5 separate regions of the Homo sapiens genome follow, and all the other regions are linked to region 1. The links are contacts of gene promoters, found by promoter capture Hi-C in blood cells and fetal thymus (Javierre and others, 2016). All regions are on one chromosome and are shown on one strand. The core of a region is centred on a gene start or on the middle of the fragment in contact, and the rest is flanking DNA. Distances in the headings are between cores, read along the strand shown. Region 1 holds the start of REPS1 (RALBP1 associated Eps domain containing 1). Region 2 has its middle 54 kb from the start of HECA. Region 3 holds the start of ECT2L (epithelial cell transforming 2 like). Region 4 overlaps ECT2L (epithelial cell transforming 2 like). Region 5 has its middle 63 kb from the start of TXLNB.

Evidence for each region. The method cuts DNA at HindIII sites, captures the fragments that hold promoters and counts their contacts. A CHiCAGO score of 5 or more calls a contact.
Region 2: a contact is called between a fragment that was not itself captured here and the fragment with the promoter of REPS1 in region 1, in 5 of 17 cell types (naive CD8 T cells, non-activated CD4 T cells, total CD8 T cells and 2 more). The highest score is 7.0, in naive CD8 T cells.
Region 3: a contact is called between the fragment with the promoter of ECT2L here and the fragment with the promoter of REPS1 in region 1, in 2 of 17 cell types (endothelial precursors and megakaryocytes). The highest score is 7.7, in endothelial precursors.
Region 4: a contact is called between a fragment that was not itself captured here and the fragment with the promoter of REPS1 in region 1, in 8 of 17 cell types (M2 macrophages, megakaryocytes, endothelial precursors and 5 more). The highest score is 13.4, in M2 macrophages.
Region 5: a contact is called between a fragment that was not itself captured here and the fragment with the promoter of REPS1 in region 1, in 1 of 17 cell types (total CD4 T cells). The highest score is 5.7, in total CD4 T cells.

The regions. Positions count from the first base shown.
Region 1 is chr6:138,984,849-138,989,617 of GRCh38, forward strand. REPS1 (RALBP1 associated Eps domain containing 1) reads right to left here and starts at 3,405. Exons shown (of 20, transcript NM_001286611.2): 1 at 2,682-3,405. The coding sequence starts at 2,834. RefSeq lists silencers at 2,907-3,206, 3,397-3,636. The HindIII fragment of the contact is 2,634 bases long and covers 1,798-4,431 here.
Region 2 is chr6:139,187,049-139,191,865 of GRCh38, forward strand. It overlaps a transcript of TXLNB not described here. Among named protein-coding and RNA genes, the nearest start is that of HECA, 54 kb to the left of the region's middle. The HindIII fragment of the contact is 1,237 bases long and covers 1,049-2,285 here.
Region 3 is chr6:138,793,521-138,798,633 of GRCh38, forward strand. ECT2L (epithelial cell transforming 2 like) reads left to right here and starts at 2,567. Exons shown (of 22, transcript NM_001077706.3): 1 at 2,567-2,672. The HindIII fragment of the contact is 4,734 bases long and covers 2,334-5,113 here.
Region 4 is chr6:138,813,395-138,817,825 of GRCh38, forward strand. ECT2L (epithelial cell transforming 2 like) reads left to right here. Exons shown (of 22, transcript NM_001077706.3): 4 at 1,097-1,209. Among named protein-coding and RNA genes, the nearest start is that of ECT2L, 20 kb to the left of the region's middle. The HindIII fragment of the contact is 6,618 bases long and covers 1-4,431 here.
Region 5 is chr6:139,226,304-139,230,849 of GRCh38, forward strand. It overlaps a transcript of TXLNB not described here. Among named protein-coding and RNA genes, the nearest start is that of TXLNB, 63 kb to the right of the region's middle. The HindIII fragment of the contact is 6,911 bases long and covers 1-4,546 here.

The DNA of each region.
Region 1 (4,769 bases), core at 2,155-4,654:
AAACATTATTCCACAAAGCACCTCATATAGTGGCTACCCAGCAGTCCTTCAATAACATATCCAGTCTCTCCCTTTCTATTCTACTGCTGTCACCCTGGTTGGATGTCCATGACCTAGCACCCAATCCAGACCACTGAAAGAGTGTCATTCCTTACCCTTTCTGCCACTCAAAGTCAAAAACTTTTCAATGGGTCTCCATTGCTTGCTGAAATATCGTTATCTGCTGCCCTTCTTCAGAGTCTTTCCCAATATGGCCTCTTTCTAATTTTATATTCTGTTATCCCGAAAACACTAGTCCTTGAAAAGGCTCCTACACTTTCCACTTCTGATCACTTTTCTCTGCCTGGAAGCCCTCATAATTCCATTCCCCTCACTCCACCCTAATTTAAAGTCCATCTGAATTAAGTCAAAAAGCCTTTCTTGGTCATACCTCCTTAGCATTTCATAACACTTGGCACCTCTCCTATGGCATACATTATACCTTATGTTATACATGAGCACTCCTATAATTGACAAGATCCTCAAGAGCTTCTTACTCCTCTTCTGATGCCTGCAATGCCTAGCCCAGTGTTAAGTAGAGAACTAAGCATTAGATATGAGCTGCCCCAAATGTTTCCCACTTAGAAAGCAATGGAGGACTGTGTTTTCAGACAATCCCAAACTCCCTTAAGGGAATTAAGCACATATTCTCCTTTTGTCTCATATTTCTATGTCTTAGACCAATTTTTAAGTAAATTGCCTTCAAGATATCTAGACTGCTATTTAGTATACATAACTGTAAGAGTTCTGCTCCAGGGAGTTCCAACTTGTAACTGAACCCTGAATATTTAAGCTCTCTCTTTATGCCAAAAGACAATGGAAATTTATTTTTTGAATGTTAATAAAATTGAGCAAAACATAAAAATAACTTGCACTGAATTAAACATGTTTGAAGTAAAGATTCATTAATGCTAATGTGTCTGTCCTAAAAATTACATTTCAAGTTCTAAAGTCTTTGTGTACCCATTAAAAAGATTGAAAGTTTTATTTCAACTCTTTCTCACCTCAAAGACAAACTAAAATAGAACAGAGAAGGCTTTTCCTTAATTTTATTTAGATCCTAACTTGAAGGTATACTTTGTTATTTCTTCAAAAGGAGCAAAAAGAGTATGATTAATGAGCATGTTCTGACCAGATCTCTAAGTCCTACTCCAAAGCTGTAACAGGAGAGTACCATAGACCACACTACCAGCACCCTTCGTTAGCAGACCACAGGCTTTGTTTTGTATCTCCCTGAGCTAAGAATGGCTTTACATTTTTGTGTTTTGTAAACACAAGAAGAAGAATATGCAACAGAGAGCATATGTGGCCAGCAAAGCCCAAAATATTTACTATTTGTCCCTTTTCAACAGGATGAATTTGGGACTCCTCGTTGCCCTTCACTGGCACGTAAGACATCCCACCTTTAAAAAAGCAATGTAAAACACAAGACCATTTAAAAAGATCGAACTCGTTCAACTTAGTCATAGTTAATGCAGACTTAACTTCTAAAACAGAGACCTGTGTGTGGACATTTTTATTCTTCACAGAATTTTTGTTGGAAGAAACTTGCCTTCATTCTGTGGATGAACATACTTATGCTTGAAAATGGAAAGTGCCTGACCCAAAGTCACACTGCTGGTTAACAGCAGAGTAGGGTCAAGGACCCAGCCTTCAAAACCCTGGTCCAATGCTTTGCAGTCCACTACATACACCTATACATGTGGCTTTAAATTTTGGAGATGTGGATAACTAGCTTGGATCAATATAAAAGATGAAAGCTTAAAACCTGTTCCTAACATACTGTTTAGACAGACTCCTACTAGCAGCTATGAATCATTAAACAGAGTAGCATTAATGCTCACCACATACATTAGATAAGAACTTCTAGGAAGTCCTCTGTTTCAAAAGCAGATATGATAAAAAAAGGCTTTAAACCTACAGGGTTTGCTCCTCCAGGGCTTCAGATTAGGGCAAATAACGCACTTCTGCCTACCAGCTGTTCAATACTCATCTCCCAACCCAAATCCACAAGTTCCACAAATGCTTTCGAATGCCTGTTGAAAAACATTGTTCAGTCTCATCACATACACACGTTCTACAGATAATTACAACTTCTTGTATGCCTACTTGTAAAACTACTAAGTAGTTCACATTTTAAAAAATTTCCCTAAGAATTTTGCTTCCTTTAAAAAAACTGCTTCTTCGATTCCTAAATCTATAGAACTCACTTTATCACGTCTTCTCGGTTAATCCAAGAATTAAAAAAACCATTTTGCCCATACTGATAACTTTACTACTCTGCAGGATCCGAAAAGCTCTCTATATGCCAGGTTCTAGGATTCACACACATTAACAACCTAAGATCCTTCAAGTGAGATAGCTCTTGCAGTACAGAGCACAGATTCTCAGGGTCGTGGGGGATACCGGCTGAGGCTCTTCAGACCCCCACCACAGGAGTTCCGTCCTCTAAGGGCAACCCCCTCCCCCTTGGCCGCGGCGCGAGTCCAGGCCTCCCGGGCACCTGCGGCCCCTGCCCGCTGCGGGGACCCCCCGAGGAACCAGCCCCCCGCCGGGCCCCAAGGAATCGGCGCCCACTCCCACTCCTGGAGGCCAGTGACTGCAGGCCTAAGCCGCCCGCCGGCCCCGGGACGCGACGTTACCTGTAGGACCACGTCGTTCGGCAGCTGCGCGGCCCGGAACAGCTCCAGCACCCGCCCGTTGACCACCACCTTCTTGGTGCTCTCAATGTCGCAGTAGGAGAAGAGATCTGAATAGTATTTCTGCTCCGCATCGCTCAGCGTTAAGCCTTCCATCTTCGCCTCCGGCTCACGGCCGCCCCGCCCCGCATGCACTACTCGGGGCCCGGCCCCAGGAACCTGGGCCGGCAGGGGCTGCGCGTGGCCCGGCCTCCTGCTAGCTTCCCGAAAACGCCGGCCCCGGCCTCACACGCGCCAGGTGCGCCCGAGCAACAGGGCCCGGAGGTCGCGAGGAGGGGGCCCGGCTGCGCTCGCCGCGCCGCTGCCTGCGAGGCCCGGCGCGCGGCTGCGGCTGCGGCTGCGACTACGGCTCCGGCTCCGGCTCCGGCTCCGGCCGCGGGGAGGGTGCAGAGAAAGAGGCGGGGGCCGCGGAGGCGCGAGGCACTGGCGGACTCCGCCCCCGCCGCGGGTTCGAGTCTCCCCGGCTCCCTGCCGATTCCCCCAGACTTCCCGCCTCGGCTTCCCCTTCCGTCCACGCCTCCGGAGCGGCAGCGCTTCCCGGAAAGTTGTGGGGCTTCGAACCTAAAGTTTCGGGGGATCTGGGCTGAGCGTGGCCGCCGCTCCGCCTCCCTCCGCCGCCATTTACAGTGCCCCGGCCCGGCCCCGACGCGCCCGCACCAACAGTGACAGCGGCGGCCGCGCTCCAGACCCGGATGTGAGGCCGGGAGGAGAGAGCGCGAGAGGGAGAGAGAAACACCCACCGGGCTGGCTTGGCCGCTCCCGGGAGAGGGAGGAGGCCGCAGCGCCCCCTGGTGGCCGGCGCCCGGCGGCGGGATGACCGAGCCGCCCTCTGCGCGGAGATCTCAGCAGCAAGACCCCCGGAAAGGGGGGTGCAGTGGGAAACAGCCGGCAGCTCATTAAGACCGAGATAACTAAGATCCGGGTTGCAGTTTTTATGTTTCGCAGTTTCTGGTCCTAAGCGTCTGAATAATTGGATTGAAAGGGGAGCCTTGTTCAGGTTATTATCATTCTATCTGTACCTTTTCGGTACAGATGAAGATAAATGCAGTATTTCCATCTGTTCTGAAGGGCTATGAACATCCGGGCTATGAACATCCTGGCTATCCGGGAAGCCTCCACGTAGACACCAACATTGAGGCTTCATCTCACTCGTGCTTCAAGCCATGTTTACCTGAGAAACAAAATGTGCTGAATAGAGGGGAAAACTGGCAAAGTTGTCCTCTTTGTTCACCAGGTCATTCCGGTCACTGGGAACTTAATACTCTACATTTATACCTTCAACTCTATCAACTCATGTAGGCCCGGGGCTGCCCACAGGGGCTGCCTTCCGTATTTTCTCCTTTATGAAAATCATGGAGTGGCGCTCTTTTAATCTGCACCTGTCCCAGAGAGGGGATTCTTCAGCTATTTCAAGTAGAATATCTTAAGAATTTATACTTAGCAAATATAAAATACTTCAAAGACGGGAGCTAAGGCAGAATTACCCAGAGTTCTGGTTTTTATTTTGTCTTCTACAAGTTGTTTCCCAGAGTGCGGATCCTATAAATGACACATATGAGGAAATTATTACAGGTTCCCAGTCATTTATCTGTAATTGCAAAATTCAAAGCGCACTGAAAACCCAAAGACTTTTTTTTGTAACCCTTTGGAAGTAAAACCTGCCCTGCCTCATTTGGAGGCAAAATCTAAACTAAGCTTGCATGAAGCTATTTCTAGCCTTTATGGATCCCACTTAGTGTCAATATTTACTCATTTCACTCCAGGTCTTTGTAGAATGTTAATATGTACACAGTCACAGGCATTCTATTATCTTTCTATTTTTTAAGAAAGATAAGGGATTTTAGACCTGTCAATGTCTTCTGACTTGACTAGTAGTATTTGATAAAGGTAAGTATATACTATCCATTAAGCTTATTTCCCATCTCTAAGACTTTCAGTTTGCTACAGCAGCCCCTCATGTGTCCTTTCAGGGCACCTGCAGCAAGTGATCAGACCCCCCCCAGACAGCTGCCTTCCAAAGGTGTAAACAGA
Region 2 (4,817 bases), core at 417-2,916, 200 kb after region 1:
CCCAGATGTAGACATCTGTCAAACTTATTAAATTGTATACTTTAAATATGTTTAGTTTATTCTGTGTCAATTATACCTCCATCAGCCAGAAAAAAATACCCTCTTCTCCCCCCTGCACCTCCCTACCCAGGATAACTTGTATATCATAAACATTTTATTTATATTTAAATCAGTAATACACTTTCATTTGACAGATTTGGTTCTTTAGACCCTCTAGTTGTAGGACTACACTTTCTTGCAAACCTTCATTTATGATGCACTGTAAGAATGCTTCCTATTTGGTTCTCTTTAAAGTGGAATTGGAACTTAATGACACATGAGAAATACTATAAATATAGAACCTCTCTAGACTTGTAGGATTTCCATTTTTTAAAATCTTTTGCTTTTTTTTCCCCATGTTTAATTCAGTATTTTGTGTATATGATTTGCCTCATCTGCTCAAAGCATCCTACTGAGTTATCAAAACAGTATTTTTTTTTTATAATTATATTTCATTGGTTTGTGCACTTTTTTATTAAATTACATCATTGCAATGGCAAACGTAACTGTGGCATAAGCAAGTCTGGGAATAAACCTGAGTAACTTTTGGTAAGTACAGAACTCTGCTGGGGGAAACCATATGCAGATGGTGCCTGATAGCGAGGAGGCTCCCAGCTGCCAGCATTCATCTGGCCGAGGTCATTCATCATAGTGTGGCTTTACAAAGCAATTTAGAGGCAGTTAATTGCTGGATTGGTTAAGGAAAGGTTGATTGAGAGAAGATTCTACTGCTCAAGCTCGTTTAAATCCTTACTTCCCTCACCTGTAAATATTGAGTCCCTACCTGGGGGTGTTAAATGAAATCATTAAATTAAGTGTTTATTGCAGTCACTGGCATGGAGTAAGTGCCAAAGATGTTCCGTATTAGGATCATTTATGTTATTTCTGGAAGCATTCTTATGTTAGGGCAAGATTGTCTGACTCAACACTTATTTTACCGATGAGGAAAATGGCTCAATGTTTGATGGCCTTTTCCATCACCAACCAGTTAGGTGGTAACCCCTAAGAAAGCTTCCCAGGGGCCTTCTTACTAAGAGGCTCCTGAAGAGTTCTCTAATAGCAGTGGAGGAATTGCAGATCCTGTGTCATGGATACAGGAGCTTCTGAGAGTGGCTTTACTTTATGTCTCTCAAATCGATGGGTGCGTTGATGGAAAGGGAGATAAAACCAGGCCTCAGTGAGGCAGTGAGATGAGAAGAGGGTTGAGAAAGTTGTGCAACTGGCAGGCAGATAAAATCTGTCTTAATAAGGATGGATAGAAATTTTGTGACAGCCGTATTTGTTTTTTCCCTAGTTGGGTCAGCTTCAAACTGAGACCTGTGCTCAAAAACCTATTTCTTCTTTGGATGGAAAAATGATCCATTTGTTTCTCTTATCTAAAACAGGATCTGTGATCTACCCTAACATGAAATTTTAAGTGTAGATTATTTTTAAAAAATCTAATCGAAATTCTGACAAAGCATTTGACTTATAAGGTTTGCATTTTTGTATTAAGAATTTTATTGAACTGAAAAATTTCTGAAAGAGAAATTTCACTCCCAACGTCTCTCATTTACATTTTTGTTAGATTTATTAATGCATATGTAGCACTTTGTATGTATGCCGGGAAGCAAGAGCTTTTTGAAAAATTGTGTTGGAATCTCAATTGTTTTCCAGATTTCTTTTTCTTTCTTTCTTTCTTTTTTGAGACGAAGTCTTGCTCTGTCGCCCAGGCTGGAATACAATGGCATGATCTCGGCTCACTGCAACCTCCACCTCCAGGGTTCAAGCAATTCTCCTGTCTCAGCCTCCTGAGTAGCTGGGATTACAGGCATGTGCCACCATGCCTGGCTATCTTTTTGTATTTTTAGTAGAGACGGGGTTTCACAACATTGGCCAGGCTGGCCTCAAACTCGTGACCCTCAGGTGATCCACCCACCTCAGCCTCTCAAAGTGCTGGGATTACAGGCGTGAGCCACCATGCCCGGCCCAGATTTCTTTAACCTCGTATTCTATGTAGGTGGGATATAACCTGTGGTTCTTTGGAATTGGGGTTTTAACAGTAAGCAATCATATGATGTGTAGTGTAAGAAGCACTAATGTTTTATTACAGCTTTCGGGGTAAAAGCATTGCAAAGGAGGTGACAGGCGTATTCTGTTGCCCAAAAGTTTATGATTTCTCTTTTGATGTTTTTCATGTTGCATGTTTGGATTTGCATTAGTTGAAAGTTCTAAGAAAATATCTAGCAAATTAAGCTACATGTGAAAGCTTTATTCAAAACTGCTAAGCATTAAAATTCAAAAGGATGATTTTATCTAAGAAGAATATTTAAAATAGTCAAATTAGTGTTTTTTATTATTAGAACTGCCTCTATATTGAGGTTAGAGCAAGTACTTTGGCATTTAGTTTTCTTGGTTTATGTGTAATTTTAATTAACAAGATATTAATTATGAGTCTGAGGATTTCAGAATTTATTATTAAACCCAAAAGAAAGGAAATAAGAAAGGTCTGAAATAAATGGAGTTCTCAACTTGTAGAGATGTGCTCTTTTTGAAAATACAAACTTCCAGGTCAGATTTCCAGTTTGGGCCAAGGAAGTAAGCTTTCACCTCTTCAAAGACAATATTGTCTTTGCAGCTGTGGAGGTTTGCGGGGAGAGAGGTCAGAGCCAGATGAAAACAGTTTTATAGGATCTATGTCAGCATTTAGCAAGGTTGATCTTGTCGGGTATGAAGTCACTCAGATGGGGGATACAGAGATATTGCTAGCTGTTGTACTATGGAAGTCACGTGATGGGATTCCATGTAAATGTCACTCCAAGTAGGCTCTCCTCTAGGGCAGGGACTGTCTTTGACAACTTCTATCCATAATGCCTACTATAGGGCTGTGCCCATTAGCTGTCTGTCAAACAAATGTGCTGGCAGCTGTGGGGAATTCAGACAATTTTCTTTCCTAGTTTTGTGTTTTGGGTGCCTACTTCCTTGGGGATTCCTTTCAGAAAACCAAATGTCAAAATATTAACAGTAAAGAAAATACCTGGATCATAAGAACTGCCTTCATATCTTACACATTTAGAATAAAAGTGATTCTTAGTCTGTTCAGGCTGCTATAACAATACCTTAGACTGCGTAACTTATAAACAACAGAAATGTATTATTTACAGTTGTAGAGGTTGGGGAGTCTAAGATCAAGGTGCCAACAGATTTGGTGTCTGGTTGAGGGCCTGTTTCTTTCTTTCTTTCTTTTTTTTTTTTTTTTTTGAGACAGAGTCTCGCTTTATTGCCCAGGCTGGAGTGCAGTGGCACGATCTCAGCTCACTGTAACCTCCACCTTCTAGGTTCAAGCGATTCTCCTGCCTCAGCCTCCCAAGTAGCTGGGACTACAGGTGCCCACCGCCATGCCCAGCTAATTTTTGGTATTTTTAGTAGAGACGGGGTTTCACCACATTGGCTAGGCTGGTCTGGAACTCCTGACCTTGTGATCTGCTCACCTCGGCCTCCCAAAGTGCTGGGATTACAGGAGTGAGCCACCACGCCTGGCCAAGGGCCTGTTTCTTATAGATGATGTCTTCTAGCTGTGTCCTCACATGGCAAAGGTGTGAACAAAGCATACTTGGACTTCTAAGGGCACCAAACTCATTCTGATTAGATCAGAATCCTGATAATCTAATGACCTCCCAAAAGGCCCCACCCCTTCTGTTGTTTTTTGCTTTTGTTTTTCTCTTCTTTTCACAGGTGTTGAAGGTCCCACCTCTAAAAGCCATCACCTTGGGGCTTAGAGTTTCAACATATGAATTTGCAGGAGGAGGCACAAGCGTTCAGACCATAGCAGTGCTCCTGTGTGGGATTATTTAAGTAGTTAAGATTAAAAAGTTAGAAAACGTCAGAAAAAGAAGACACCTTAAAAATCCTGTTTCCCAATCCCTGTACTGTATAGAAAGGGGGACAGATACAAGAATTGCTTAGAATCAAGACCTCTAGAGCTGTGCCATTCAGTACAGCAGCCTAGCCACATACTGCTGTTCAAATGAAGTTTAATTTTTTTTTTTTAATTAAAAATCCAGTTTATCTGGCCAGGCGCGGTGGCTTACGTCTGTAATCCCAGCACTTTGGGAGGCCGAGATGGGCGGATCACCGAGGTCAGGAGTTCAAGACCAGCCTGACCCACATGGAGAAACCCCATCTCTACTGAAAATACAAACTTAGCCGGGCTTGGTGGCACATGCCTGTAATCCCGGCTATTTGGGAAGGCTGAGGCAGAAGAATCGCTTGAACCTGGGAGGTGGAGGTTGCGGTGAGCCGAGATTGCACCATTGCACTCCAGCCTGGGCAACAAGAGCAAAACTCTGTCTCAAAAAAAATAAAAATAAAAAAATCCAGTTTATCAACTGCACTAACGATATTTCAAGTTCTCCGTAGTCACATGTGGCTAGTGGCTACCATATTGGACAGCACCCATTATACAACGTTTCAATTACTAGAGAAAGTTCTATTGGACAGTGCTGGGCTAGATTTTTTTCACCAAAATCTTTCCTGTCCTCTGTGAAAACCTTAATGAGTGGGTTCCTAATTATTAGCCCTTAACACTGTTTCACATATTTCAACAAATGATTTAAATTTAGAAACAATGTATGGAATACTTCTGTTACTTATTCATTTTTGGTTATCCTGGGTGTGGGGCGGTGTACCTGGGAGACTCAGGGAGTTGTGTTGAGTTCATTCAGACATCAACAGCCTTAAATAAGCAACCACAGGGACGCGAGACAGAATGGAAAAGGGCGCACTTGGCCTCCTAAGAA
Region 3 (5,113 bases), core at 1,317-3,816, 190 kb before region 1:
TCTGCCCCCTTAACTTTGTGTTCATGCACGTTTACTCAGGTTGGATTTTTTTCTTTTTTCTTTTTTTTTTTTTTAAATCTAGAAAATGAGGTCAGTAACCAAGTTGGTAGTTGTTGTATGGGGAGTAAGTGAAAAAGCGCGTATAGGATGCTTAGCACAAGCCGGGCACGGTAGCTCACGCCTATAATCCCAGCACTTTGGGAGGCTGAGGCAGGTGGATCACTTGAGGTCAGGGGTTCAATACCCAGACCGGCCAACATGGTGAAACCCCATCTCCACTAAAAACACATACACACAAATTAGCCGGACGTGGTGGCGGGCTCCTGTAATCCCAACTATCAGGGAGGCTGAGACACAGGAATTGCTTGAACTCAGGAGGCAGAGAGGTTGCAGTGAGCCGAAATTGTGCCACTGCACTCTAGCCTAGGCGACAGAGCAAGACTCTGTCTCAAAAAAAAAAAAAAAAAGAGAGATGCCTAGCACAATAGCTGATACCAGTAATGCTCAGTAAACATTAATTTCATCACCCTTTAAAAACAGCTTTATTGAAACAATAATTTATGTCATAAAATGTACCCCTTTAAAGTGTACAATTCAGTGATTGTTAGTAGATTCATAGAGTTATATACCCATCACCGTGATCTAATTCTAGAACATTTTCATCACACTAAAAAGAATCCCATTAACAGTCACTCCTTGTCCCCTAATCCCCTCAGCCTTTGGCAGCCACTAACCTCCTTTCCAGCTCTCTGGATTTTCTATTCTAGACATTTTATATAAATGGAATCATACAATACGTGGCCTTTTGTGACTGGTTTCGTTTACTTAGCATGATGTTTTCAAGGATTGAAGCTTCATCCATGTTATTGCATGTACTTCATTTCTTGTTTTGGCTGATCATATGCCATGGTATGGATAGAACACATTTTGCTTATTTATAACTCAGTTACCTTTGTGTTGCAGAAGATGCTCATGCTTCTGTCTCCTTGTTTCCAGGCCACAGAAATAAGCACCTAATTGGGGGAGGGGAGGAGAGGGACTTACTGAATATTTTTCAAATCTTGATTTTAATAATTTTTGGCTTTCTGAATTCAAAGTATTTTGATCAGTAAATTGGTCTTTTTAATACCCCTTTTAAAAATTACAGCATCATGGAGGAAACTTCATTTGGGTTGTGAGAATAGGGATTTAAGGGGGAAAAAGTCGTACTCTAGGGTCTGACAGGGCGAAAGGACACTTTGTCATGTGACATGTTTTTCTTGGATTGGTCCTGAGATAGAGTAAAGCAAAAAGCTGGTTCCTGCGGGTTGTGACAGAGCAGTGGATTGACCTTGTTTATTCACTTGGTTCATTCGCCCTTTGTGTCACAGGGCCCTAAATGGGTCCCAGGTAGCGAAATATTAGCTTATCTAATTTGTATCCTTTCACACTCCTTAAACACATGTTCAAGGAAACAGGAAAAAATGCAGTGCCTGGATTAGAATAAAATTTAAGGCCTGGTTTGGTGACAGGCACCAGTACTTTTAGCTACTCTGGAGGCTGAGGCGGGAGGATTGCTTGAGCCCAGGAGTTCTAGGCTATAGTGTACAATGATGATTTTACTGGCATACAGATGAAAAAGAAAAAGATATTTGAAATAAAAATAAAAATATAGTGCACAATGACCAGGCCTGTGAATAGCCACTGCACTCCAGCCTAGGCAGCATAGCAAGATCACATTTCTCATATGAAACTTTACTAGAATGAAACTTATGGTTTATTACATAGATGTTGCTTATTCGTTGTAGGAAAAATTGAATTACAGATGATTTTTAAAACTACCAGAGCAAACCATTTAACCTATTTGTGTACATACTCCCAGATTTCTTACACACGTTGCAAAAAAAATAGATCGTACCATTCTGCTGGTTTTCTAAGCTGCTTTTTGTAAGTAATGTACTGTGAGCATCTTTTCATGGCCATAACTATTACATACAAAAGAAAAAAACAGGCTTCACAATAAATAGTTAAAAGACATTTTGACCTGAAACTAATGAAGAAGGGTTTTTTGGTTTTGTTTTTGTACCTCCTGTATAATGCTGAAATTGGTAATTCTGCAGTAAATATTAACATTTTCTGAGGATCTGCTGAAGATGAATGTGACAAAAAATAAGAAACTCCACTTTCCTCATCACACAGCCTTAATTAACATCGCTGGCTTTGTTTGAGATCAAGCAAACGTTGGCTTCAGTGTCCAAGTCTCTTCTTGGGGTCCCACGGCCTTGGGTCTGGCACCTCTGCTGGGCACCTCGCAGGGCTTCCGAGACGTGCCGCGACCCACGGGACCCCACGGAAGCTTTCTCCCACCGCAAGCTCCCTGGAGGCAGGGAAAGGAGCCGGGACCCGAGCCTAGCTGGCCTCAAGAGAAGGGCGGTGGCTCGCACGGCGCGGGCGGCTTTGCTCACTGCAGCTGGGGAGATGCAGGTTGGCCGTCCGGGCGCGGCGGCGGGAGGGGCTGCGGGCCTGTGGGGCGGGGTGGTGGCTCCGTGTTGTTGGATCCCTATGGAGATGACCCTGTCCCTGCCCCACCCCTCTCCGGAGCTGCGGCCCGAGTTGGCGCACTCGATTTTCACTGCGCGGTTCCAAGAGGAGACAGCCGCCACTGTACCGGGCCTCATAGCCACTTCCTAGAGGTAAAGCCCGTGGCTTCTGAGCCGCTAGTCTTTTTCTTGGGGCCGCCCGGGGCACATCGCCTGGGCCGGCTTAGTTTCCCAGTGCAGTCGCCCAGGAAGACCCTAAGCAGCGCTGAGGGGCGCAGGGCCCTCCCTCCGCGACCCTGGAGTCCCTTAGCAGCTCTGGAATTAACCAAGATTCTGAAGAGGCTCTGGGGAGAAACAAAATCCACGCGTAGGGTAGGGTTTGCATCGGGCCATGCCAAGTAAACTCTTACCTCCTCCAGAGAACTGATTTGGGATCGAAGTAAAGTTCTTGAACACTTTGGAAAACGCTGATTTTCATAGGTTCACACCAACTGCCTTCTTCCTTCTGACAGTTCTCTCCCTCTTTCCTCCTATGGGGTCCAAAAATGTAGGGAGTAGGGTGGGGGCTGGGTTGGGGGAATGAGGGAGGAATACAAAAAATCTACTGTGAATATAGGTCTTGGTTATAAGGATAGCTCTAAGAGTTAATATGCTAAGATTTGATGAGCAGGACAAATAAAACAGTGGTACTTTAAAATATCGATTTAAAAATACCGATGCTGTGCTTATTAATAAACTTTGCATATGTATCAGAACACAATATCCTGACATCATTGGTGTTAAAGTTCACTGCAACCCATGCAATTGTATCCAAGCCTGTTAAAGTCTGTTCTGCAGGAACTGACATTTGTGCTCCACAGAAACCTCAAAAATCATGCTCTACAAACACTTATTTCAGTGGGAGGAAGAAGGGTTAAGGACTTGGAAGTTTTATAGCAACAGTTGCATCTTGTTTGTTACAGCTTTAGTTTTATAGCTTTAAACTTATAAATCAGTGAGCACATCCACCATTTGAAAATACCAGCACAAGTATGGTATTTTCTATCACCGCCTGTAAGATCAATAGCCCAGGTTTCCTCAAAACACGCCATTATTTTCATTATCCATTGCTTAGTGTGTACTTAATAAAAATTATATACTGGCATGTAGTTTTACATGCCCTAAATGTGGGACATTTAACTCAACTGGAATTGTCTTTCATTTCTGTTTTTTCACCAATCACACTTACTTTTCTTCTACTCCCGTTCTTTTGTGCGATCTTTAGAACCAGATACCTTTTTGGAGGCATATTTAAGGAAGTAAATTTTTGATAAATAAAGGAATCATTGCACAATTTGCATGTGTGAATTGCAGAAGTACGCGCATGTAGGTACATACCTCTGCCGAGGAGCAGTGTTTTAATTTCTAAGCCACTCTGTCTACTGTAGTGGAGAAGGACCAGACTAACTTGCATTTCTCCAGCTGTATAACAGATAACCTGTGGAAACACAGTTAATTGACATCATTGCTCTTCTGTGTGATCCCAGTGAGGATTTAGCTCTCTATATGGGCTGGCAATTGTTCAGCCATTTCATCTTTTAATCTGGCTTTGGTTGTTCTGAGAGGAAAAAAAAAACAAAAAACTTTTTTCTCTTTACTCTCACACACTCAGTACAGCCCTTCACCTCTTGTCACCAAAATGTATGGGAATTTCTTCCCACCGACAACCAATTCTCCAGTGGCCACCAACTCTACGTCCTATAATTTAACCCAGTTCTGACACTGTGTACCTGGAGTTAGTGTCAGATCCCATACGTTCAGGGCTCAGTCCCAAAAGACTGCCCCCCACTTCAAATGCCAATCACAAGTCCCAGGTTGTGACTATATGTTGTTTATGATTAACCAACCAGTTACAAATCTGGATTCCCACAAGCCCCTCCTCCGGTTTGATTAATTTGCTAGAGTGACTCACGGAATTCAAGGAAACACTTTACTTATGTTTGCCCATTTATTATAAAGGATATTACAAAGGACAGATGAATAGCCAGATAGAAGAGAGGCCCAGAGAAAGGTATGTGGGCAAGGGTGTGGAACTTCCATGCCTTCTCAGCCCCTCCACATGTTCAGCTATCCCAAAGATCCCTGAATCTTGTCCTTTGGGATTTTAATGGAGGATTCATTCATAGGCACAATTGATGACATCATTGGCCATTGGTGATCACTCAACTTGAGCCCTTCTCTCTTCCCCAGAGGTCAGAGGATGGAGCTGAAAGTTCCAGCTGCATAATCACATGGTTGGTTTCCCTGGTAACCAGCCCCCATCCTGAAGCTATCTAGGGGTCCACCAAGATTCACTTCATCTGAACAAAAGATGCTCCTATCACCCAGGAAATTCCAAGGGATTTCGGAGCTCTGTGTCAGGAACTGGGGTCAAAAACCAAATATTAGAACAAAAGATTCTCCTAGCATCCCTATCTACAAGAGTTTTAGGAGCTGTATGTCAGGAACCAGGGACAAAGATCAAATATATATATTTCTTATTATTCTACCATATCACAGGTTGTCACACAACAGGCCCCATCCTTCTTTTGACTAAGCATGGAAGTGCCAATGTC
Region 4 (4,431 bases), core at 1,014-3,513, 170 kb before region 1:
GTGATATATTGGGTCTCATGTTGCCACATTTTTAAAGAAAAACTCTCTAAAGAATTTAGCTTTTCAGTTTAAACAAAAATAAACTTAGCTTTGTCCCAAAGACAGTCTCTTCTCACCCCAGTTCTCATCTCCTACCTTAAGGGAGGCTCCAGATGGCCTCCCCTTCCACTCAGTACCTCCAGGAACAAAATAGAGACCTCTAGGACACACAGTTGCTGTAGATAGGGAAGGAGGTGAGAAGGTGATTTTGGTGGTGGGGGCTGGGAGTATTCATGCTTGTGTTCCTCTGTATTTGTAATCCTCTCTTCCCTCCTGTGCCAACTGGATGGTTCCATGTGGCCTGGGGATGCCTCTCCTATTTTAAGGTAATTCAGGAAGTCGTCATTTAATGGCCTATGGTGGCTCTGGCAATAGAGAAGGCAAACTGGGTGCTCTTGTGAGTTCAGCCTCATTCACCAGAGAAGGAGACTAGACCAGGCTGGGACTAAAGCCTGACCTATGATAATAACAGTGAGTTTGTTATCTCTATCTGAGCAAAGCTGGACCGAAACGCAGGTTTGGGGGACTCTGGTCCTTAATGTATGTCTTCCCTAGAGACATGTCTCTGTTGGCTATTTAGCGATACTTACTTTCATCTTGGTGGGTGCTATAAAGATCCAGGGTTGTGAGTTAGTGAAGTTATACCTACCTCAAATGGTTCTGTTTTCACAATTAAATGAGTGTAGCCCGTATATGTTTTCAAAATGAAATGTGTGGACTCTGTTTCCCTAGGCCACATTAGCCTAGGTAGAAACAAGATCCAGGAATCATTACCTCTTTGTTTTCCAGAGGCCCTTCTTGGGCCCCTCTATAATTACATCACTGCCAGTCTTTCCCATCAACCCACCCAACAAGCCTGGGCCTGTCAGTATCCCTGGGTAAAAAGTTTAACCTGAAAGGAGAGACCTTTCTCTCTATATGTGAAAGCGCTCTGTGAACTGTAATGCACTCTGCAAATATTAGCTGTGAGGTTGCTGGTAGATTGTCTAAAGATTGCTTAGCAATTAAAAACAATGAACTGTACAGCAAATGTCACTTCCTCCCCTCCCCCTTATAGCTCTTTCAGGAAAGAGTGGCTCTTATAAGTCATTGGTTTGACCTCTGGACTAACAAGCAACGTCAAGAATTCTTATTCGCAATTTTTTTAAGATGCACTAAATCACAATTAAGGTAAATGTAGCCTAATGATGTAATTAACATTGATTCTTAAAGAAAACCGTATATAAATGTTTATATAACCTTTAAGAGATTTTTTGTTCCTAGGGAGAAAAAAAAACAAGGTAATTGATATTTTAAGGTTTATAAACAGACTTTTCCAGTGCCTGCTTTTGCCTTGAGGCTGAAGTGAAGCCGTGGGGAGGATTTAATGCTTTCATACTATGGTGGGACTGTTTCATGTTGGCAAAAACACAATGGCTTCAGTCAGTGAATTTTTAACATTCTCTTAGCATATTAAATTTTCCTTGGAACCATCAGACAGACAATATATTGCAAATGGATGTCTGGGACATAGGTAGGCATAATCATTAAATGAATGGATGGATCTACAAAATATATGACAAGTGACAGTGGTTGAAACATTTAGGAATATGGGCAAGACTTATACAGCCCTAGTCAAGGATTACGAAGAGGGTTCTCTTTCTCTTTCTTCCCCTTCCCTCATGTTATGTCTGTAATTTACTTTAAAACACTCAGCACAGATGGTGTGACATCTGTGAGTTGAAGTTATGCCCAGGGTCAGCTCCTGTTCTGGTCAGGAATGAATACCCTAGGGGTCATTAGCCAGCTCTAGATTGGAAGGTCACAATACCTGAGTTATTAGATACTTTACTAATTAGCATAGCAAATATCAGACATTATTCTCAAAACAACCCGTGGCTTGTTAACCAGCCAGATGAATGTTAGAAACGGATTCTCTTTCGTGAAATTCAAGATATGTGTGGACTGACCGAAATATTCTAGAGAGCCCTCCAGCTTGCCTGGGTGTGGTTGAAGAATCCAGCCAGGCTGGTAGCAGGTACGTGGCAGGATGGTTTTCCAGCCCTCAATGCCAGATAAAAAGCCTTATGTTAGTCTGGAGGATTTCTGGTAGCCCGAGGCCAACAATGAGGGTAAAAATAATAGAATACTATTTCTGAAACATTGTCCTTTTGAATGAATCTTTTGCCCAGAGGAGAAAGAGCTGGGACTTCATCAGTCCTACAGAGGAGACTGTGTGAAGTTGTTTGGGCTTATTTACTAATGTTTGTTTAGAAAAACTCTAGGTATGGCATCATTTGATGTTAGGTACTTTCACTAGAACTTGGTGGTGAGGTTGCAGGAGAGGGTAACCTTCGGATGTCTTAGATACCCAGCAAAAATATCTGAGAGTGGTGCATGATCAAATTGGCATATTTTAGGTGGAGTACTTGCTTCCTGTTCTTTCTTACATGTTTTCCTGCCAGTCTCTTTTGATCAGCCATTTTTTCTCTCCTCCTCACCTGTCAGCTACTCCTGCATCTGTGGGTGCAAAGCAGATTGTTAACGGACTCTCCCCATGGAGTCACTGGAAGGAGACAGGCATCTTCCTGGCTCTGTTGAAAGAGGCTGCAAAGACAGGGCACAGATAAACAGGCCCTTCAGTCAATGTTGAAAAATCAGGGGGAAGACATTTTATGATAGTCATTGGCTATGTTTCTTTTTACTCCAACTTTGCAGCTTTCAAGATAAGAAAATAACAGACCAGACCTCACATTTATAACCACTTTGTGCATCATGTTCTAGGCTCACGTATCATAAACCAGGCAATTTTAGTTGTGACCACTGGAGGTCATTAGAGATCTTATGGTATATTTTGAAGCAGCTTAACTCAGGCCTGACTTTTTGTCACTGGAAATTGCATCCTTTGTCCGGTAACTGAATTCTTTTTTCTGTGAGACAAGAATATAAAACTAACCTGTTCAGTGAAAGTACTTTTTTTTTTTGTTTGTTTGTTTGTTTTTGGATAGCAGCAGCATTTCTTCAGAGAGCAGACTGTATTTCATAGTTTCATGAATGTTAGTATAAATTTCCTTTAAACATTTTTTTTTTGAGATGGAGTCTTGCTCTGTCGCCCAGGCTGGAGTGCAGTGGCGCGATCTCAGCTCACTGCAAGCTCTGCCCCCGGGGTTCATGCCATTCTCCTGCCTCAGCCTCCTGAGTAGCTGGGACTACAGGCGCCCACCACCACGCCCAGCTACTTTTTTTGTATTTTTAGTAGAGATGGGGTTTCACCGTGTTAGCCAGGATGGTCTCGATCTCCTGATCTCATGATCTGCCTGCCTCGGCCTCCCAAAGTGCTGGGATTACAGGCATGAGCCGCCGCGCCCGGCCTAAACATCTTTATTGAGATATAATTCACATACAATAAAAATCACCCATTTACGGGTACAATTCAGTGGTTCCGGTACATTCACAGAGTTGTGTGATCATCATCACATGTTAAGTTTAGACCATTTCATCATCCCACAAAGAACCCCCCTACCCATTAACAGTAACTTCTCATCTCCATCCCTCTAGATCTGGGCAAACACAAATCTGCTTTCTGTCTCTATAAATTTGCCTATTCTGGACTTTTCGTATAAATGGAATTAGACAGTATGTGGTCTTTTGTGACTGGCTTCTTTCACATATTATAACGTTCTCAAGGTTCATCCATTTTGTTACACATGTCAGTACTTCTTTCCTTTATTGCCAAATATTATCCCATTGTATGGATGTGCCATATTTTATTTATCCACTCCTCAGTTGATTATTGTAAATAATTATTATAAATAGTGCTGCTATGAACATCTGTGTCCAAGTTTTGCATAGAGATGTTTTATTTCTCTTAGCTATACATATAGGAGTGGAATTGCTGGGTCCAATGGTAGTGCAATCAATTTTTAATTATTAAGCATTTCTTTTGGATCATTTATTCCTGTAGTCTTGCTTACCCAATAACTGTAAATAAATTAATAAATGAAAGAAATTAGTATTATTTGAATACTTGAAATGTTTATATGTAAGCTAGGCTATATTTGTGCAATACCTTTCTTTCAAGGTAGAGAGGCCATTGTTTTAGATGGTTTTATAATTTCCAAATAATTTTGTTTTAATTCAGTCAGTTATAAACAGGGTATTGCAATATTGGTGGAAACTGTCAACACAATTTTCTTTTAAAAAATTATTCATAATCTCTATGAGATATATTCAAATATCTTAGAGTTTTCTTTCCTGGCCTAATAAGTATTCCCTAGTAAGTTTTAAGATGATTTCCTAAGTGGAATTTTATGATATTTAAGACATTTTTTAAAGGTTTAGCTTCTTAAACCATCCCTCTGGCAAACTAAAATGTCCCTTCTCCTGGGAAGACTTCTCTGCTGGTCTTTCATG
Region 5 (4,546 bases), core at 1,148-3,647, 240 kb after region 1:
AAAAAAAAAAAAAAAAAAAAAAAAGAGATAGAGAGAGAGAGAAAGACACACATACACCTGAACATTCAATTTATGACTAAAGTAGCACAAAGATGACAAAAACAAAATACAAATGTATTTGTCAAAAAAGGTAAAAGATTGATAAATTGAACACTATTAAAATTGATAAATTCTTTTAATCAAAGTATATTAAGAGAATAAAAAGGTAAACCACAGCATAGCAGAACTGATTTGTAATTGTTAAGTAATAAAGTACTGCTTTCCAGAAATATAAAGCATTACTACACATGAACAAGAAAAAACAGATAAACCATAGGAAATGAGGGAAAAAAACATCATGAATATGCATGTCACGAAAGAGGCTATACGCCTGACCAATAACTATAGAAAAAGGTGCTCAACCTCATTAGTCATCAGGAAAGGCCAATTAAAACTACAATGAGGGTCAGGTGCATGGCTCATGCCTGTAATCCCAGCACTTTGGGAGGCTGAGGCAGGCAGATCACTTAAGTCAGGAGTTCAAGACCAGCCTGAGCAACATGGCAAAACCCCGTCTCTACAAAAGATACAAAAATTAGCTAGGCATGGTGGTGCACGCCCATAGTCCCAGCTACGCGGGAGGCTTAGGCATGAGCATTCCTGGAGCCCAGGAGGTGGAAGTTGCCATGAGCTGAGATTGCACCACTGAACTCCAGCTGGGGAGACAGAGCAAGACTCTGTTTCAAAACAAAACAAAACAAAACAAACTACAGTGAGATCCCAGGTGTGGTGGCTCATGCCTGTAATCCCAGTACTTTGGGAGGCCGAGGTGGGAGGATCATGAGGTCAGGAGTTTTGCCAGCCTGACCAACATGGCAAAACCCTGTCTCTACTAAAAATACAAAAATTAGCCAGGTGTGGTGGTGTGTGCCTGTAATCCCAGTTACTCAGGAGGCTGAGGCATGAGAATCGCTAGAACCCGAGAGGTGGAGGTTGAAGTGAGCCAAAATCACACCACTGCACTCCAGCCTGGAGAAAGAGTGAGACTCTGTCTCAAAAACAAAACAAAACAAACAAAAAAAAAAACGACAGTGAGATATTACTATACGCTTCCAAATGGCTAAAATGAAAACAACTGATACATGATGTGTGGGGAGGACATAGATCAATGGGAACACTCATACACTGGTAGTTGAAATTATTGTTACAATCTATTTGGAAAACTGATTAGTAGTATCTCCTATATCTGAAATAGACACATGTCATATAACCCACCAATTTATCTCCTACATATACACATAGGAAATATCACAGCAACATTATCTGTAGTGGACACTAATTGGAAACAATTCCAATGTCAGTCAACATCGGAATAGATAAGTTGTGGTATATTCATACTATAGATCACTATATGACAATGAAAATCAATGAACTACTCCTACAAGCCAAAACGTGGATGAATTGCACATAGATAGTTTTGAGCAAAAGAAGCCAGACATAAAAGGATAACTTCACAAAGTAAAAACAAAAACAAAAAACAGCCCCCTTACACACACAAATGCACACACGCACAGGCACTCATATACACACACAGGCAAAACAAATGTGCTTTTCTCTAAGAAGGAGGGAGGGGTAACCTGTAGGATGCTTGACTATGCTCTATTTCTTGACCCAGGTGGTGGGTTACATGTGAGAATTCACTTTGTAATAAATCATCATTTTTGCAATAAAGAGTTTTTAAAGATATGTTGAGAAATTAAAATGAGAAATGAGATTTTGGAACTATTTCCATAGAAGTTAATTATTAGAATTTAGACCTCTTTTCTTTTGGTGTGCCACCATGGTGTAGCCATTCATGCTTCTTCTCATCTCTGCTACTCATTGCTGTTTGGATGCAGATGACAGCAACCCATCCAGCAACGCAACCATACCCTCTTAAAAAGGGAAACTAGGCTGGGCGCAGTGGCTCACACCTGTAATCCCAGCACTTTGGGAGGCCGAGGCGGGTGGATCACCTGAGTTCAGGCATTTGAGAACAGCCTGGCCAGCCTGGCCAACATAGTGAAACCCCATCTCTACTAAAAATACAAAAAATTAGCTGGGCATGGTGGTGGGCATCTGTAATCCCAGGTACTTGGGAGGCTGAGGCAGGAGAATCACTTGAACCCAGGAGGCAGAAGTTGCAGTGAGCTGAGATCATGCCACTGCACCCCAGCCTGGACAACAAGAGTGAAACTCCATCTCAAAAAAAAAAAAAAAAAAAAGGGAAGTTAATGGATCTAAAAAGACCAACATGTTCCAGGGGCTGAAATATGGTTACCAGGATTAAGTTTCTCTTCTTGCAACTCCACTCACCTCCTCTTGGCTTGATTCTACCTGCAGGTGATTCCTCTTGGTAGGCAGAATTACAGCAGAAAAAAACCCAATAGCTAGGTTAGACTGGACCCCACTTGGTACACGTGGGCGAGCACACTGGATCGGAGTGGCTTCAGTTCACACAAACCCCCAGATAACGTATGAATAAAATTAGTGTGAAAGTGCAACTTCATGACAAGCCAAATAGTCTCCTGCCCCACTTTCAACCCAGTTGCAGTCCATAAGCCCTCTTCTATGGCAGTTCTGGAGCTGCCACTGTCTTTGAACTAAATACTCTATCAAGTGTTACACTGTTTTAGGCCCGTCTCCTGAGGCCAGGACTGGGTGAGTGGGTAGGGCTCTGTGCTTGATGGCCCCATCCAGACTGCATGTATCCAGGACAAAGTATTTTTTCCAAGGAAGGGACATGGGCAGGAAAAAGCGATATGTCTGCTCTTTGCTAAATAATTTTTATTTTTGCACATTAGGGAAAGATAATCAATACTTCCAAATTGCCCTTTGAAAGAACTCCTACAAATGTACGAGAAAAGGACAGATGACCCAATACCATATTGACAGTTTCTGAGTATACCCATTTGCCCTCATCCTTTCTAATACTGGGTATTATCAGTATGAAAGTTCTGTCAGGCTAATGAGCAAAAGTGATTGTGTGTCATTTTAAAATTTTATTTATTTATTTTTGAGATGGAGTTTCTCTCTTGTTGCCCAGGCTGGAGACCAATGGCGTGGTCTTGGTTTACTGCAAACTCCACCTCCCGGGTTCAAGTGATCCTCCTGCTTCAGCCTCTCAAGTAACTAGAATTACACGTGCCTGCCACCACGCCCGGCTAATTTTTGTATTTTTAGTAGAGATGGGGCTTTACTATGTTGGCCAGGCTGGTCTCGAACTCCTGACCTTAGGTGATCTGCCCGCCTTGGCCTCCCAAAGTGCTGGGATTACATGTGTGAGCCACCATGCCTGGCCTGTTTATTTTTATTTACCTGATGTGTTTTAGTTATTTGTATTTCTTCTTCTACAAACTGCCCGTTCACATCCCATGCCAGGAGCTTAGAAATGAGGGTGGGACACACAGCGGGTGTGATCATCTCTGGCAGGGAGGAAAACTACCACTCACATTATTTGGGACTGCTGTGCATGGTGACAATAAAAAGCAGACTGGCTTGTGGTTGGTCTTATTACCATTAAATATTCTCTGATAGACAATGCACCTCCCACCCCATCTTCCATTGCCCTTGCCCACTTTCTTCTGAGTTGTCTTTTCTTATTACTTTGTACTATTTCTTTTTTTCCTGGACGTTAATGCTTCGTTGTATTTACTGTGACTATATTCTCCCAATCTATCCTTGGCTTTTATTTATGTTTACCTATTTTGCTCCCTTTAACTTTTGAAGATTATTAATTAACACGTGTGGCAGACAATTAGTTTGTTATAAAAAGCTCTCCTTCTCCTTCCTCTTGGTATTGCTTTAAATTACTCCCAGACTGAATTGAAGGACTTCAATATCGGTTTTCTAATAATGGGCAAGGGAGAAGCCAGATGGTCCACCTACAACTATATAGCTAGTCAGTGCTAAATATTTTGGGGAGATGAATTGTATCACAGCAAAAAATCTCTTGGCACAAAGAATGAGTTATGGGCATGGCTGATAGGCCAGTAGGATCTGCAATCAGTCCTGGTTTACTACCTTCTGACTCACTGATTAAAACATAAATGGATTGGACACTATTTCTCTTTGGCTTTTGGTTCAGGGAAACTATTCAGGGGCTTGATTTCAGCTGGATAATAGCAGAGAAAAAGGAGACTGGGACTCCGCCTCCAAGGACGTCACCCTAGTTAAAGATAGTAACCATCTGAAGAGCTCCTCTCCGCTTAGGCAGGCCAGAATCAATTTAGCCTGTTTGCTACCACTTCTTGTGCTCCATGCTCTGCAGCTGGTCTCTGTGAGGAATGGCATGGAGAATTTCTCAAGACATACTCCTTTTCTTGCCTGGGGATGGAGCTGTGAGTCCATGATGACTGTCACATTGGGCTGGTGGTGCATGCAATTATTTCATGAATAGCTGACACTATACTTGCAGCCTCACACACCTGCCTGTTTGTTCAGAAGCCAAAAAAAGTGAGCCTTGTGACATTGTAAGCAAAAGAGGATTAGTTGAGCAAACAAAAGTCTGCAGCAAGATGGGATCCTA